2 separate regions of the Homo sapiens genome follow, and region 2 is linked to region 1. The links are contacts of gene promoters, found by promoter capture Hi-C in blood cells and fetal thymus (Javierre and others, 2016). All regions are on one chromosome and are shown on one strand. Each heading gives the region's core, a stretch centred on a gene start or on the middle of the fragment in contact. The rest is flanking DNA. Distances are from core to core; before and after follow the strand shown. Region 1 holds the start of DPYSL3 (dihydropyrimidinase like 3). Region 2 overlaps DPYSL3 (dihydropyrimidinase like 3).

Region 1 (4,429 bases), core at 557-3,056:
GTTGGTTGGTTTGTCTAAACTTTCAAAAATCAAACAGTGAACAGAGATGCTGTTCTTTCACTAGCTCATTGCATTTTAATGGAAAAACAACTAAAACCTGAATAAGCATTAACTGTAATTGCTCTGAGGCAGACATTTCCATTTCAGGTTGTTATTCCTAACCATATTAGTGCAGAATAATACATGCGGATGGATTTTGCGGCCATTACCTAGACAAGGGTGAGGGCATCTGATTATTATTATTCCCCAACTGAAAGCTTCAGTTTGAACTCTGAAGTCTCCAGCCCTGCCAGGCCCTGCATTTTCTGAACTACATCTCTGAGTCTCTGTGAAATAGACACATAAATCAGGGCAAGCTAGATTTCAATGCCATCCCTTCAGTCAGTTCAGTGTGACATAAGTTTCTCAAAAATACACATACAGAAGAAATTGGCTTTGGCACATTTAAGAGCAGCAGGGAATTTGCATCTCATGCTAGTTTAATGTGCACTCTTAATACTCTCGTCTATTTTCTAAAATATAATGCTATTCTTGCAGAGGCAGCTGGACCCCTGTAATACCCAGTCTTGTGCCAAGCTATGTACACAAATACACTCTTTACAAACACAGATGTGAAATGCCGTGCTAAGACACAAGCGAGGCATAGAGAGAGATTCGCGTGTTTAGTCTAGAGGCTCCACACCCAAAAGTTTCAGGGACAGAGCTGATGTTTGAAGACTGAGAGGGGAGACCGCCCCTCCAGTACTTTCATCCGGGCACTATGGAGATGACCCCCATATTCCCAGCATCACTTTGCCCTCTGCCGTGGTGACCCGGGTTGAGATTTAATCTAGGGCCAGAGGGGGGCAAGACAATTGTGCTGTTGGCTACTAGAGAGAAGAGCTGGAAATCACTAAGCCTTCCCGGGCTGACACACCCACCCAGACCGGATGGCCCAGGAGTGCGGCGAGGAGGCAGGGGCAAAGGACGCGGCTCCAGGCAGGGGAACCCGGGCATCCCTTCCGCGCTTGCACGAAGATGCTGCAAGTGGCGACACGCGCGAATCCAGGGTCTGGGCTAGGAAGTCGCGCTACGCTCAGTGGAGGATGACCCTTTCCTCCTCCTTGTCCCCCAGCCCCGTGCAAAGTGAGCTGGAGAAAGTTGTGCCCGGGCCATGGCGGCCAGGGCTGGAGAAAGGAACGAAGGCAAGGAGGGAAGTGACCCGGGGCCCCCTTACCTTGTCCTTGGGGCCGAGGTTCTGCAACACCTCTTTGCCGGTGGCGCTCCGGATCTCTACCCCGGCGGGGGCGGGGGAGGCGGGCGCGGGCTCCCTGCTCTCTTCCCGGCCTTGGCCCCTGCGCGGGGTGTCCCCCTCGATCCCGGGCCGACTCCCCGATCCTCGGTCGCTGCCCTGGCCGCTCCGAGGAGTCTTCGCGCCCCGCTGCCCCACGCTGAGGGCATCGAAATCCAGCGTCTTGCTCTCGAAGGCGCCCTCCACGTTGCAGAACATGCCGCCGTATTTCTGCCGCGGGACCTGGTCCGTGGTGCCCGGCCTGGCCAGGTACACGGGCAGATCGTCTTCGTGGGAGCTGTCCCAGCCCCTCCGGCCCGAGGCCATGGTTCAAGCACGAAAGCGGCCCGCGGGTTTTTCTTCCCCAGAGGCGGAAAGGGCAGCCGCCGGCAGCGTGCGCCGAGCCACAGTGACTGTGGCGGGAGGAGGCGCCTGAGCCTTCGCGCCAGAGGCGGCAGTGCTGCTCCGATTCCTGCTTGTCCCTAGCGAGCCAGCGAGCCACACAGCCAGCTAGCGCGCGGAGCAGGGGCCCAGAGTAGCGCCGCGCTTGGCTCACTCGCTGGACCTCTCGCCCGGCCGCACCTCCTCACGCACCCCCAACCCTAACGTGGCCTCCCGGGCTGACGCAGCGTCGGTGCCCATCACAATCACAAACCAAACTTGGCGCGCGCGCACACGCACACACAGGCGCACACTGCCCGCTCGCGCAACAGCCTTGCCTCACACACTTTCGCGCAATTTAGACGTCTTAGAAATGTTCACACTCCAGCACTTGACTGCTTCACCCACACTAACTCCCTAGTTTGCCTCACAAACACAAAGCTTTCTGACGTCCCTCGTGCACAAAAACCCAGCTGACCCAGGTGGATTCATCTCAAAGCCAAGTCCTGATTTACAACTAACACATACAAACTCAAATTTACGACAGACTCACAATCCTACCCGGAACCCCGGACTTGCCTCATCCTGATCTTTAGGATGACACTCATAACTACACCCAGTTCTAGAATCTGCCTTGCAAACCCACACTCTCACATGAAGTCCTGAATTGGCTTACACACACAACACAAACACACACTGAGAGAGAAGCCCTCTTACTTCATTGAGAGTCACAAAAGCCCTTTGGCTCACATAAGCCCTTTCTTAGCTTCTATATAATATCCTAGTTTGCTTTTTACCACCCCTAATTTGCCTCATTTCAGATCACACACACACACACACACACACACACACATTCTTAGGTTTTGCCTTGCAAAGCACTCTTCATTGATGCTCTGTCCCTCATACAACAAACCCCAGATTTTAATCTCACACACTGACACAAGTCCAGGTTTACCTCAGTCGGAACCGACACTTAGATTCACACCTAAGCCCAGATTTACTTCAAAAATCACACAACCAAAGACTTTGCTTTTCATGTTACCTCAGATGTATGCAGACTTTACTTATGTACATCTGTGCTTTCATAACCTCATTCTCTTCCCCACGTCCACCCACGTATACTCTGACGCCGACTCTGCCACATAAACAGAACCTGCAAACTACATACCTTACATCATATCTGCACACACCACCTAAACCCAAAACCTGTTGTGCCGGATTTAACTGTGCTCCCTCTCAGAAAGTCACCCATTTATTTATTTAGTCAACCAACATAAATCAGGTACCCACTATGGCTTTCACAAGATGCTGGAGCAACAGTGTCGAACAAGAGAGATCGGCCTGTCCTCACCAAGAATGTAGTCTATTACCACCCATCTAGGTAGCACAGCCGTTCACTGTTCTGCTCAACTTACAGAACTTTGTTTATTTTGTGAACTAAACACTCCCCCTCCCAAGTATGGACACATACATGCTAAGCTCCATAAAGGCAGAGATCTGGTCTGTTCAGTTCACCTTTGTATATCTTGTGCCCAGAACATCTACAGGCACTTGATACATTCTTTTTGAACAAATGGAGGATAACAATAACAACGACAGCAGCACCAGAAAATGTTTATGGAGTTATTGCTATGTGCCAGTCATTATTATAATTGTTTCACATATATTAACTCATTTAATGCTCATAAGCATATGGCCGGCTTCTTTGTGCGCATAGACATACTCTTTGAAGGCATCCACATAGAATTTGATGAAATTAACCTTTGAACTCTGATTTTGGAGTGGAACAAAGGCTCCGGAAACTGGAATGTCAGTCTCAGGTCTGTGACAGCCACAAAATATTGAGGAATGGAAGTTGGCCTGAACTTAGATCAAAGACAGGTATGTTGACACAATTTAAACCTATCCCCTGGCCAGGCGCAGTGGCTCACACCTGTAATCCCAACACTTTGGGAGGCTGAAGCAGGTAGATCACCTCAGGTCAGGAGTTCAAGATCAGCCTGGCCAACATGGTGAAACCCAATCTCTACTAAAAATGTAAAAAATAGCCGGGCGTGGTGGCACCCGCCTGTAGTCCCACCTACTTGGGAGGAGGCTGAGGCAGGAGAATTGCTTGAACTCAGGAGGTGGAGGTTGCAGTGAGCAGAGATTGCGGCACTGGGCTCAAGCCTAGGCGACAGAGCAAAATTCCACACAAAACAACAACAACAACAACAACCCAATCCCCAGTGAAGAGAAAGCCACTTGCTAAACTGCCTGTGCTCTATCAGAATTATTTATGACTTCTTAAGCTGACTTCCTTTGGGCAGCTGCTCCTTCTTAACAAATGCTGGTTGGTGATGGACTCAGAATTTCCTGTGAGTGCTGCTTCAGAACAATTACAGTTAAGGGTTATCCAGGTTTTATTAGTTTCAGGCTCTGCGCTAAGGACATCCAGGCAGTATCTTAATTAATCTTAATAACCTTACCTGTCTGGTACTAGCATTTCTTTTTGTTTGAGACAGCATCTCCCATTTGAGACAGATGGGAAAGGCAGGAGTGCAGTGGCCCGATCACAGCCCATGGCAGCCTTGACCCCTGGGGCTCAAACAATCCTCCTACTTCAGCCTCCTGAGTAGCTGCGACCACAGGGGTGTGCCACCATGCCCAGCTAAACTTGTATTTTTTTCAGAAACAGAGTTTCACCATGTTGCCCAGGCTGGTCTTGAACTCCTGAGCCCAAGCCATCTGCCCACCTTGGCCCCCCAAAGTACTGGGATTACAGAAGTGAGCCACTGC
Region 2 (4,429 bases), core at 751-3,250, 52 kb before region 1:
TCTTTGCCTTTCTTACATCTGAGTTATCTCCTCTGTTACCATCATTATAATCCAGAACACTCTTTACTAAATAGATTTATACCATATTTTTGATCACTTGATTGTGTGTGTGTGTGTGTGTGTGTGTTGTTTCAAATAACAAGACTTGGTTAAGCTTTTTTGAGGTCAGGTTTGCATGCAAGAGGCCATGCTGAATGGCAATTGCAATGTGTTCTTCTGGATCCGGCTGCTGTGACCAGCCAGACACAGAAACACAGCAAATTGATTCAAGCTGTTGCCATCATCAGAAATGTACAACAAACACTATTTTCCTTGTTTCATCCCCTTCAATTATCTTTCACTTTCTTGAACCAAAATAAAGCCTCTAAGATGAATTTGAAGGAAAAAGCCTTCCTTGGCCATAAGAAAGGCAGCCATCAACACAGGATGCCTCTGTGTCTGGCCAAGAGAGAGAAGAATGGAACCAGTATGGATGTTTTCCACAGTAGAATGACTCTGAATGGTTTTCCTTGGATACACAGCAGTGCTTGGCTTTAGGTATCTCAGTAAACTGAAAGAGGGAGAGGAAGATGTAGAAATAGACTTGATTTACAGTCCCAAAGAAACTTAATTTTGGCTACCACACCTGCCACACCACAGATTTCCACACTTAAATCAATGGGTACTCCATTCCAGTTGCTCAGGCGAAAGGTTTGGCACCATCCTTGATTTCTCTCCTTCAATCATGCCCCTACTCTCCACAGACAATCTTTCAGCAAATGCTACTGATTCTATTTTTTTTTTTTTTTTTTTTTTTTTTGAGACAGAGTCTCGCTCTTGTTGCCCAGGCTGGAGTGCAGTGGGGTGATCTCGGCTCACAGCAACCTCCGCCTCCCAGGTTTAAGCAATTCTCCCGCCTCATCCTCCTGAGTAGCTGGCATTACAGGTGTCTGCCACCACACCTGGCTAATTTTTGTACTTTTAGTAGAGAGGGGGTTTCACCATGTTGGCCATGCTGGTCTCGAACTCCTGACCTCATGTGATCTGCTTGCCTCAGCCTCCCAAAGTGCTGGGATTACAGGCATGAACCACCGCACCCAGCCAGTTCTATCTTTTAAATGTATCCAGACTATGGTCTCCTCTCATGATTTGCAAAGTTTCTTCCTGTGTTTAGCCATCATTTGGCTATCACCTGAATTATTGTAACCTCCTAACTGGGTTCTCTTCCTCACCATCACTCATTCATTCATTCATTCATTCATTCATTCTCAAAATATTCACACAATATTTACCTTGTGCTTACTATGTGCCATTATTTTTATCAGTGTTAGTGCAATGGAGGTGAATAATAAGTCCCAAATATCATGGAGTTTACTTCGTATTCTTCTTATTATATAATAATAACGCATATCCTTATTACACCACCTGTCACTTGCTAGCCCCCTTTCCTGCTTTATCTTCATAATACTTTTTACCACATGACATATTAATTTATTATTGAATATTCTCCCCATCACCAGAATATAAGCTATTTGAGGGTATGTGATGTGTCTGTTTATTTACTGAATGCCTGAAATAGAGCCTTGTCCATAGAAATTGCTCAATAATTATTAGGGGAGTGAATGTAAGAATTTTTTAAAATTGCATCTGGAGAAAGATTAAATAGGTGAAGAAGAACTTTTCTGGAACTAAAGGGCATGTAGTTAGAATGTAGATTTTACAGTATCTATATTTGCTTCTCTATGCATTTTTAGAGTTTCCTGATTCTAGATTTCAGAGCAGATGAATTAAGATGGCGAAGAATCACTTTGCTAATATGATACAGTCCAAAAATTTCAGAGCAACATATGGGCCAAAGAAAGGCTCAGTAGAGTAGAATTGGTACCTGGGCACTGATTAGTTTTATGCCAATGAGGCTGATTCAGTCAGGAGAGGAAACTTTATGAGGCAGGAGAGAAGTAGGTCAATGGCTCTATGAAAGTTCCAGAATAGGCAACTCAGGTGACATTTATTGTTTGAGTGGAGGGCTTGCCCTTAGCTAGAAACAAGACTGGTTCCTCCACAGTCACTGAAGAGGAGAATATCTTTGCACAGAGTCCAGTAGCTGGGTATATTTCCGGGAAGGACTTCATGGAATTTGTCTTCTGACTCCATCTATTTTTTCTGCCATCAGCTAAGACCATCTAGGAAAGAAGGTATTGGGAGAGGGAGGAGGAGTTCATATGAAAATCATTTTCCAGGACAGTAAAGGAACTAGGAAAATATGGTATGATTATCTGGCAGTGTCAGAGGCGTGTTAACCAGAGCAACTCCATCTTGAATAGGAGCTGTGTAAAATGAGGCCGAGACCTGAGACCTACTGGGCTGCATTCCCAGATGGTTAAGGCATTCTAAGTCACAGGATGAGAGAGGAGGTCGGCACAAGATACAGGTCATAAAGACCTTCCTGATAAAACAGGTTGCACTAAAGAAGCTGGCTAAATCCCACCAAAACCAAGATGGCGACAAGAGTGACCTTTGGTCGTCCTCACTGCTACACTCCCACCAGCGCCATGACAGTTTACAAATACCATGGCAACGTCGGAAGTTACCCTAGATGGTCTAAAAAGGGGAGGCATGAATAATCCACCCCTTGTTTAGCATATCATCAAGAAAGAATCATAAAAACAGGCAACCAGCAGATCCTCGGGGCTGCTCTGTTTATGGAGCAGCCATTCTTTTGTTCCTTTACTTTCTTAATACACTTGCTTTCATTACTCTATGGACTCACCCTGAATTCTTTCTTGCACAAGATCCAAGAACCCTCTCTTAGGGTCTGGATCGAGACCCCTTTCCGGTAATAGCAGCAGTAAAGATTCCCTTCAAACGGTGACCATAAATTTAAAGAGAGACCAGTAAGCCTGGTTGTGGATGTTCCTCCAGCCACTTACAGTAGCATATGTGCAGGCAAGGAGCAGGTAGGGTGTGGAATTGAATGTGGGCTCTTTAAGATGAGTGCTGAGAAGGGAGAGAAAAACTCAAGGGAACTGAGGATGAAGCAAGGGATCTAAGCTCCTTAAGAGAGCAGGGAGAACACAGTGTATAGGGGAATAAAGGACAGTGAACATACTGAAGATTAAATAAGATTATTCTCATAAAGCTCTTAAGTCAAGTTAATTAAATGGCAGCTACTCCTAACACTATTTTTAATATTTTGATTTTTTTTTTTTTTTTGCTAAACTTATTTATGCCAGGAACTATGTCTTATTTATCTTTATAGCCCCCAGCTCTTTTACAGTGCTTGGAGTGGAGTCGCATCAATGGGAAAAGGGGGAGATTGACTGAACAGGCAGGGGAGAAAGTCCAGAATATTCTCTGTCCTTTAATCTCCAAAACATTTAAAATAAGGACCTAGCCATTTACCTAGTTTTGACCATTAAAAATATTTTTTACTTTCTAAAAATACATTTATATGTTGCTGTCTTAATATGAGAAAACATTTGCCCCTTGGTCCTGATTTGAAAAATTCAGAAAAAAAAGTTCTAAAATAAATATAGAAGAGTTTTGAAGGGGAAAATGTATATACTAGGCCTATGTGAAATATATAGGCTGTTCTTATATTACATAAATAAACATTTAATCTTAGAGCTGCCTTAATTAAGCATTTGGGTCCATTAATTTTTACCTACAACCAAACAAAGGAAATCTCAGTCATGTAACTCCAGTGTTACAGAATGAAAACCAAAGAGATGATTCACCTGCTATTATTAGATGTCTACACATTGAATACAGAAATAAACTGGTAAACAAACTAACCTCGGATACACATAAACCAAAAAAAAAAAAATTACAGCCACAGAAAAGTATTCCCACTGGCTGATTCCAAAATCAAGCTTACACTAGCTTAAGCAAAGGTATGCAATCCTACGTCTCTCTAGACAGAGTTTCTCATTCTTTTCTTCAGTAGTCATTGAGTTTGAAGGATTCTGACCTGCTCCATCCAGCTCTGATGGCAACTCATATCAAAGCCAAAGGCTAGAGTTAGAAGATCAGGTTGCGAGAGGCCGGGTGCTGTGGCTCACGCCTGTAATGCCAGCACTTTGGGAGGCAGAGGTGGGCGGGTCATGAGGTCAGCAGATCAAGACCATCCTGGCTAACATGGTGAAACCCAGTCTCTACTCAAAATACAAAAAATTAGCCAGGTGTGGTGGTGGGCGCCTGTTATCCCAGCTACGTTGGGAGGCTGAGGCAGGAGAATGGTGTGAACCCAGGAGGCAGAGCTTACAGTGAGCCAGGATCGAGCCACTGCACTCCAGCCTGGGCGACAGAACGAGACTCCGTCTCAGAAAAAAAAAAAAGATGAGGTTGTGAGATGAGGACAAATTATTGTATGCTGATCTTCATCTCTGGCCCAGCATGTTAGACACACAAGTGAAGTTACATTCATACGAGGGGAAAAACTCTTGACAGC

What was found. Contacts are between HindIII fragments. The CHiCAGO score rates a contact against its expected background, and 5 or more counts as called.
Region 2: a contact is called between a fragment that was not itself captured here and the fragment with the promoter of DPYSL3 in region 1, in 1 of 17 cell types (endothelial precursors). The highest score is 5.7, in endothelial precursors.

What each region holds. Positions count from the first base shown.
Region 1 is chr5:147,508,262-147,512,690 of GRCh38, forward strand. DPYSL3 (dihydropyrimidinase like 3) reads right to left here and starts at 1,807. Exons shown (of 14, transcript NM_001197294.2): 1 at 1,217-1,807. The coding sequence starts at 1,597. The HindIII fragment of the contact is 1,835 bases long and covers 256-2,090 here.
Region 2 is chr5:147,455,809-147,460,237 of GRCh38, forward strand. All of the region lies in intron 1 of DPYSL3 (dihydropyrimidinase like 3), which reads right to left. Among named protein-coding and RNA genes, the nearest start is that of DPYSL3, 52 kb to the right of the region's middle. RefSeq lists an enhancer at 139-640. The HindIII fragment of the contact is 3,697 bases long and covers 153-3,849 here.